Linked DNA regions of Homo sapiens: all the other regions are linked to region 2. Evidence: promoter capture Hi-C in 16 types of primary human blood cells and fetal thymus (Javierre and others, 2016). All regions are on one chromosome and are shown on one strand. Each heading gives the region's core, a stretch centred on a gene start or on the middle of the fragment in contact. The rest is flanking DNA. Distances are from core to core; before and after follow the strand shown.

Region 1 (2,864 bases), core at 295-2,794, 1.0 Mb after region 2:
GTTAGTCAGGATGGTCTCGATCTCCTGACCTCGTGATACACCTGCTTCAGCCTCGCAAAGTGCTGGGATTACAGGTGTGAGCCACCCGCATCCTGCAAGGGAGTAGAGTTTTTAAGGATAACTTGGTTGGTGGGGGGAAGCCAGTGAGCCAGGATGCTGATTGGTCAGAGATGAAATCATAGCAAGTCAAAGCTGTCTTTCCTCTTGCACTGAGTCAGTTCCTGGGTGGGGGCCACAAGATCTGACGAGCCTGTTTATCCATCTGGGTGGTGCCAGCTGATCCATCAAGTGCAGGGTCTGCAAAATATCTCAAGCGCTGATCTTAGGAGCAGTTTAGGGAGGGTCAGAATCTTGTAGCCTCCAGCTGCATGGCTCCTAAACCGTAATTTCTAATCCTGTGGCTAATGTTAGGCAAGAAGGAGGTTTGCTTTGGGAAAGGGCTGTTACCGTCTTTGTTTAAACTGTAAACTACAAGCTAAGTTTCTCCCAAAGTTAGTTCAGCCTACGCCCAGGAATGAACAAAGACAGCTTGGAGGTTAGAAGGAAGATGGAGTCGGTTAAGTTAGATCTTTCACTGTCTCAGTCATAATTTTACAAAGGCGATGTCAGTAGCACTAAAGAAGGCAGAAACAACCAATAAACGCAGACCATGGCTTCAGGAAAACTTTATTTACAAAAGCAGGCAGTTAACATTCAGAATACATAACCAACTCCCACAACTCAACAGCAAAAAATCAAGCCACCAGATTACAAAATGGGCAAAGCACTTGAATAGGCATTTCTCCAAAGGAGATACACAAGTGGCCAGTAAGCACCTGCAAATGTTGACAAAAAGAGTCAAAATCTGTAAAATATTTGAAGAGATTTATTCTGAGCCAAACATGAGTGACCCTGACCTGTGACACAGCCTCAGGGGGTCCCGGGAACACATGCCCAAGGTGGTCGGGGCGCAGCTTGGTTTTATACATTTTAGGGAGACAGGAGACATCAATCAAATACATTAAAGAAAGACACTGTTTGGTCCAGAAGGGCGAGACAACTCAAAGGGGTGGTGGGCAGGCCTCCAGGCTATAGGTAAATTTAAACATTTTCTGGTTGACAATTGGTTGAGTTTGTCTAAAAACCTGGGATCCATAGAAAGGAAATGTTCAGGTTAAGAGAAAAGATTGTGGAGGCTAAAGTTTCTTTGAGGTCTTACAATGGCTGCCCTTAGAGAGACAGTAAGTGACAAATAATTCCTATGCTAGACTTTAAGTTAATCTCTTTAGGATTGGGAGGGCCTGAAAGAAAAAGATCTAGCTATGTTAATAGAGATTCTTCACAGATGCAAATTTTTCCCCACAAAGGAGGGCTTTGCAAAGCCTTCAAAATATGGCTAACCAGGCCGGGCGCGGTGGCTCACGCCTGCAATCCCAGCACTTTGGGAGGCCAAGGCGGGTGGATCACGAGGTCAGGAGATCGAGACCATCCTAGCTAACACAGTGAAACCCCGTCTCTACTAAAAAATACAAAAAAATTAGCCGGGCGTGGTGGCGGGCACCTGTAGTCCCAGCTACGTGGGAGGCTGAGGCAGGAGAATGGCGTGAACCCGGGAGGTGGAGCTTGCAGTGAGCCGAGATCGCGCCACTGCACTCCAGCCTGGGCGACAGAGCGAGACTCCGTCTCAAAAAAAAAAAAAAAAAAAAAAATACAAAAAATTAGCCAGGTGTGGTGGCAGGCGCCTGTAGTCCCGGCTACTGGGGAGGCTGAGGAGGAGAATGGTGTGAACCCGGGAGGCGGAGCTTGCAGTGAGCTGAGATCGCGCCACTGCACTCCAGCCTGGGTGACAGAGGGAGACTCCATCTCAAAAAAAAAAAAAAAATTAGCCAGGCATGGTGGCAGGTACCTATAGTCCCAGCTACTCAGGAGGCTGAGGCAGGAGAATGGCGTGAACCTGGGAGGCGGAGCTTGCAGTGAGCCGAGATCGCGCCACTGCACTGCAGCCTGGGCAACAGAGCGAGACTCAGTCTCAAAAAAAAAAAAAAAAAGGCTACCAGCGCAGTGGCTCACACCTGTAATCCCAGCACTTTGGGAGGCCAAGGTGGCAGATCACCTGAGGTCAGGAGTTCGAGACCAGCCTGGCCAACATGGAGAAACCCCCTCTCTACTAAAAATACACAAACTGGGTGGGGCGTGGTGGCTCATGCCTGTAATCCCAGCCCTTTGGGAGGCTGAGGCAGGTGGATCACCTGAGGTTGAGAGTTCGAGACCAGCCTGACCAACATGGAGAAACCCTGTCTCTACTAACAATACAAAAATTAGCTGGGTGTGGTGGCAGGTGCCTGTAATCCCAGCTACTTGGGAGGCTGAGGCAGGAGAATCACTTGAACCTGGGAGGCAGAAGTTGCAGTGAGCTGAGATTGTGCCACTCCACTCCAGCCTGAGTGACAGAGAGAGACTCTGTCTAAAAAAAAAAAAATTAAGTCACAATATATAGGATTAAATAAAACCCATCTGATGAGAATTTATGGTTTGTAGGGCATGACTCTCTAGACCCCTTAGATAAGAATTTGGGCAAGATAAAAAATATGAGTTTAGTCCTCACAAAGATGTTCAACATCACTAGTGGTTAGAGAAATGCAAATCAAAACCACAGTCAGGCCGGGTTCAGTGGCTCACGCCTGTAATCCTAGCACTTTGGGAGGCTAAGGCGGGTGGATCACTTGAGGTCAGGAGGATCACTGAGACCAGCCTGGCCAACATTGTGAAACCCCATCTCTACTAAAAATAAAAAATGTAGGCTGGGCACGGTGGCTCATGCCTGTAATCCCAGCACTTTGGGAGGCCAAGGTAGGCAGACTGCCTGAGCTCAGGAGTTCAACACC
Region 2 (2,804 bases), core at 256-2,755:
CTCCTACTACACGGCACTGAAAGATAATCCATCGGGCAAGACAACACAACTATAATTTGCTGTGTTTAAGATGATATTGATCTGCGGAACACAGGGAATATTTGTCCATTAATAAAAAAGGAAAAATCACCGTGAAGAAACTTCCTTGGAATGAATATAAAGCATAATTTCCATGATCCTAAGGATGAAATCATTGCCTTTCTCAACCAGAGCTCCTCATCTGAACCACAGAACACAGATAATGATTTAAGTGGCTCTTTTCTCTATTCTCCCACTCGGGGGTACATAACAGCTCCATTCTAGCAGCAGAGGAGAGAGAATAATTCATTACATGCAGTGGGTGTCGTAGGGCTGTGGGCCTTAGCACCCCTGTTCTGAGGCTGCCAACAATTTAGAGACCAGAGGCTCTATCTGTGCACACACGTAGCATGAATTAGTACCTGTATTGTAAAGGGAAAAAGTCATAACTACTTCTGCTGGCCTAAGCCGTCCTGGGTTAGACAAGCTTGGAAAGTGCACGACCATCACTATCATTCCGCTGTCACTGCACCATGCACAGTCCTGTCACCTTTACACGTGTAGAATGCATCGAAATCCTTCCAAAATTTTTAGTGACCTGCTTTTCCCTTGCTAAAGTAAACAGTAACTTGCTGTGTGCCCGGCTGCTGGGCGCGTAAGGTGCGTTCAGAGTCAACACACGGTCCCAGTTTCCAAAGCAAACTACTGGGAGATCAGACACAAGCTGCTGTTCGCGCTCGCCCCACCCCAAGCACCCAGCACTCTAAGGTGCCCACATTTCACACCCATCTGTTGCCTCCCGCTTGGTGCACAGTCCTTTGTGAAGCCCCAGGGATAAAGCAGCGACCAAGAGGACCCGGCCTGCTCCCCGGGGCTGACGCCAGCTGCGGGGACCCCGTGGGGCGGACCACAGTTAGGCCAGTGGGCTCCGGCTGGGTAAGCGCCAGATACAATCCGCCAAGCGGAGTGACGGACAGGGAGCCACGCTCGAAGAGGGGGTCGAGGCCGGGACCTTCCCCGCTCCCTCCTCCTGCCCCAACCCGCCCTGAGGACTCCGCCCAGGAAGCCCTGGGGACCCCGCCCGGAGCCCCCACCCTAGGACTCCCGGGACCCCCGCCCTGGGGACCCCACCAGCAGTCCCCGCTCAGGACTCCCTGAGACCCTGCCCGCAGCCCCCGCCCCAGAACGCCGGAGATCCCCGCCCTGGGGACCCTCCCGGAGCCCCGCCCAAGACGCCCCGAGCCCCCGCCCGCCCTCCAGACGCCGCCCCGGCCGGGCCTGAACCGCTACCCGCGGCTGCCGCTCACCGCCGTCAGGTCTGGCAGCCGGTCCCGCATCCCCGCCGGCCGGGCAGCGCGCCCCGCCGCTCAAGCCTGTCCCGAGCTGCCTCCGGCCGGGCCTCGGGCTCTCCGGTCTCCGCCTCAGGCCCCGCGGTCCCGGCCCGGCGCCAGCAGCCCTCCCTGGAGCCGGCGCTGCCACGGCAACCGCGCCCCGCGCGCTCTGCGCATGCCCGGCCCGCGCCGCGCCCCGCACCCACCCACACGGCGGCAGCGCTTTCCAGCGGGAGCCCGGAGGGGCGGGGCCTGGGGGCGGGGCCTAGGCGGGGAGGGGCGGGGTCCGGCCGAGCCCCAGGCTGGCAGTTCCGCTACACGTGCTGTTTGTCCCTTGATCTGCTTTTATGCTTTCACACTCATTGTTTTATTTATCAAAATATAGAGCATTCAACGAATAGTGACAAAAGAGCAAAGCTCCCGGAATGTGCTGGGTGCAGCTTTGGGTAATACATATGCCGAACCTTCTCTTTAAGGGTCCACGCGCAGCCTCGGGTGTGAATGAAGGAGAAGAGATCGTGTACCACACATGATGCTTACGGAGCATAACACGGCAGGGGGCGGTAACGGGAAGAGCGTCCGCAGGCCCAGCCCTGGGATACCATTCTGGCAGGAGAAACAGGCAATACAGACACAGACAAATAAATGATAGATGAGAAAAGAAAGTAAGGGCATGGGCACGGAACTGGCAGAGAGGTCGTCATGAAGGTGCAGGAGCTTAGGTGAACTACCCAGGTTGGGGGAACAGTCCCCAAGACCATTATCACCTCTGACACCAACGGCAAATTCTGGCGGTTTCCAAAACCACCTTCAAGTTCCATAATTTGCTAGAAGGAATCACAGAATACACTAAAAACTACTGTACTCACAACTATGGTTTCTTAGCAGGAAAATGATACGGATTAACATCAGCCAAGGAAGAAGGGCAGAGGGGGAGTCTGGGGATTACGGCGTGCAGCTTCAAGGTCCTCCCGTGGTCCTCTCCCTGTGTAGTCAGGCCTCATTACTTGCCCTGCACTGATGTGTGGCCTTACACACGAAGTACTGCCAGCCAGGGAAGCTCACTTGAGCCACAGTGTGCAGAACGTTTACTGGGCTCCATTGCATGTGCATGATTGATTGATTGTTTGATTGCTTTCATGCTTGATCTCAGCCTCTTGGTTAAGTGATATCCATGTAACCCTAAGCCCCCACCATAAATCACACTGTTACTCTCTGGCTAGCCGAAGACTCCCAGGCAAACAAAGATTGCCTTCCAGGAGGAGAAGGCAAGGCCAGATTTGTTTTTAAACAAGGTTAAAGTCTTTACTGCCTCCTGGAGGAGGTGGCTTTGGTCTGACCAGAAGGCAGCGCTAAGAAATCTGCTTGAGAGCAACAGGCTACACATTAAAAAACAGGACGTTTTGGACTTGGTTCTAGGTGTGATGTGGTTCTGTTACCCGATGGAAGGTCTTG
Region 3 (2,873 bases), core at 77-2,576, 1.2 Mb after region 2:
CTGCCTCTCATCTAAAGCAAAACTACCTTCCTCACAGAAAACGCTTTATTAGTGAACCTTGGGACCATGTCACGCAAGAGATTCAGCACTGGGAAAGATATAATTGAAACAAAATAGTGTAATCATTTTATTAAAATGCATCCCACACTGCAGGACAAATGGTCCTTATGGAGTGCCGCGTTCTCTGTACTACGTGGCTCATGGAAAAAGTGACAACATGGCTTCCTCTAAATCATTTCACCTTTCAGTCCCCACCCGCACCCGTCCCCTAGAGCCATAGTACTGTGTTCTGAAAGCCATTTAGAATTTCTTTGTGAGCATGTAGTGCTTTGCACGCCACAGAAGCCGTCTGCCGTGTGTGAGGAGCATACAATGGACTTTCTAAAGATAAGGCGTGGGCTTCCACAGTGTCTGCCAGAGTTTAGTTCTTTATACCTTACTGAAAAATGCCTCGTGGTCTTCGCAGAGGGGAAGGCCTGTCTAAAGTCAATCATCCGAGATGGGTTTTCCATTCCAAAGAAAGGCAATATGGTTCCTTCCTTCCCTCCTAAAATATGACTTAACTTTTAAGAGAAATGTTCTGACACCCACCTAAACACACAAGGCACGTTCCTGGCCTGTGTTCAAGGGAAATGATCAGTCATTGCATTGTTATTCCAAAGAGCAGCCAACAGTGGCCTCCCCCAGGCCCTACCCTGCAATGGGATTCGCTTTCATTTAATGGAAACTTCTGGGACTGATGCCCAACTCAGTGCACTCAAGACGCATCTCCAGTTTTCGGGGGAAGCTGGTATTTGACATAGTGTGTTAAACAGCTCCTGAGAACCTTTGGGACACTCTGCCATGGCTGGCGTGAGGCCCAGAGGACCACGCAGAGGCAATGGTAGTACAGATGTCACAGCTGAGGGTACGATGAGGCCTGGGCTCAGTGAGCCAGGACGAATGTGACAGACACCCCTTGCTGCCACAGTCAGCCCTTTGACGAAGGTGGGCTGGTGATTCTGGAAGTATTGGCTATAGCGGTGGGCCCAGTCAACTCTTCCTTGTGGACTTACGACAGCAGATTTTCTCTAGGATAAGCTTGTGTGGTTCTGCCAGTGAAGCAGAGAACCACCTGTGCTGTTGTGGAAGGCGTGCCGTTGAGGGGGAAAACGAAGCCCAGTATTTGCTACTGTTTTTCCTTTTTTTACTATGACAGGAAAATAAATGCAATTTTAGTGGAATTGATTGACAGTGTCTCCTTACTTTGAAGTTTTCACCAAAGCAAAAAGGTCCATATCCAATAGTATCCTTTGTGCTGTGGCTTGATTTTGGCCTATTTTACATTATTTGGTCCAGGAAATTAGGTTATATTAGGTTTTTTGTATACTAAAAATCAGTTATGGCACAATAAAGATTTTCTGTTTTTAAATTGTATTTCATCTGCTTCCTCCCCATTCTCTCACTTTAAGTGACATTGAGGAAGGTATTCTGTCCCACAGGTTTCTGTGGACAGCGATACAGCAGGAGTCAGTGAAATCAACTGGGGAGCTCACTTGAGCTCTTGATAAGAAATGTGGAGAAAAGTAAAAACCAAGCTTTGAAGAAACAGAAGAAATTAATCTTTTAGTTAGTTGAACATACCAAAGCAGAGGACTGGAATCTGTTTGTTCTAACCAACCCGTTCTCCCTGGCTTGGCACGTGCCGTGAGAGCGCAGCTTGCCGGAGGGAGGGCCGCTGTGTGCGCCTCACATCTGGCTCCCAGTGGAAACTTTTACTCCTCCTCATCCGCAGATGTGATAGAACTGAAGTATCTAGGAATTCTGCCTTTGTCATTTGTTTTAATTTGTGTGCCCTGTTCATTTTTTTTGTCTTTCCCAAATCTTGGTAGTCTCCTTATAGTTGAAGATAAAATGTTGAGTGCACTTATTTTAGAATATCCTAGACATAACTGTCTAAGTAAAAGCGCTCTATTAATCTAAAACACTACAAGAGAATTTAACACCATCTCTCAAATGCTTTTTTGGAGAGCTTAATGGGATTCTGAATATTTGCAATGTGGAGTTTCCGCCCCGATCTCACGTCAGTGAGGGTCTCCTGTCTCTCAAGTGTGTTTCCTTTGGCTGTTCCCTAATACAAAACACGGACATATTTTTACTCGTAGCACTCAATTTAGTAACTTCTAGATGCTACCGTTGACCTGAGTTAAATTCATTTAGTCGTGTACGTAAAAACTCTCCTTTTAGTGTGTTATTTTCTTGGCCTTCCCTTTTAAAGGTTAAAGTTTCTAACCTAAGAATTAAGTACGCGTTCAGGAAGCTGTTGTCTAGGCCTTCCCCTTGTGAATCTGGGTTCATTCCAATACGGCAAGTAAGAGTTGGAAACTTTGAGAACACAGACTATAAAGGCAGCAGCCCGAACACTGTCAGACTCTAATTGGCGACCCTGGGAAACAGTTGCCCTGCTATTCTTTAAAGAAAGACGTTTATTCTGATGATAAAAACAGTTAGCCAGACTGTTTTTAAAGCACCTGGCGGGAAGCAGAAGGTTGGATCCAAGCCCTTGTTCAGATTTGGTGCCTGATAAGACAGGGGTTTCTCTTTTTGTGACCTTTATTATTATTATTTTGTTAACTGTTGTAACCAGTTAGCTGTTGTGTTTTAAGATAGAAAGGAACAAGACTAAAATTGTAAATACTTTGTAAACATCAGCATTTGTACTTGAATAGTAGGATTTTAAAGGGCATTGATAGCATACCAAACAAAAGGCAAAATAAAGTGACCTTTTTATATATTTTTTCATTTTGTCTTTCATAGAAAACTGGTATTTAAGTTAAATGAGATGCTGAATTTTTCATTTGTGTGAAGAAAAAACCAACAAGTAATGTTGGAGC

The links. Contacts are between HindIII fragments. The CHiCAGO score rates a contact against its expected background, and 5 or more counts as called.
Region 1: a contact is called between a fragment that was not itself captured here and the fragment with the promoter of STX2 in region 2, in 1 of 17 cell types (total B cells). The highest score is 5.7, in total B cells.
Region 3: a fragment that was not itself captured here is called in contact with the fragment with the promoter of STX2 in region 2 in 1 of 17 cell types (monocytes); the score reaches 5.7 in monocytes.

The regions. Positions count from the first base shown.
Region 1 is chr12:131,885,087-131,887,950 of GRCh38, forward strand. No RefSeq gene overlaps it. Among named protein-coding and RNA genes, the nearest start is that of ULK1, 8.1 kb to the right of the region's middle. The HindIII fragment of the contact is 6,226 bases long and covers 1-2,864 here.
Region 2 is chr12:130,837,745-130,840,548 of GRCh38, forward strand. STX2 (syntaxin 2) reads right to left here and starts at 1,506. Exons shown (of 11, transcript NM_194356.4): 1 at 1,326-1,506. The coding sequence starts at 1,355. RefSeq lists silencers at 1,070-1,129, 1,200-1,709. The HindIII fragment of the contact is 18,553 bases long and covers 504-2,804 here.
Region 3 is chr12:132,077,688-132,080,560 of GRCh38, forward strand. It overlaps EP400 (E1A binding protein p400), which reads left to right. Exons shown (of 53, transcript NM_015409.5): 53 at 1-2,773. Among named protein-coding and RNA genes, the nearest start is that of SNORA49, 48 kb to the left of the region's middle. The HindIII fragment of the contact is 497 bases long and covers 1,079-1,575 here.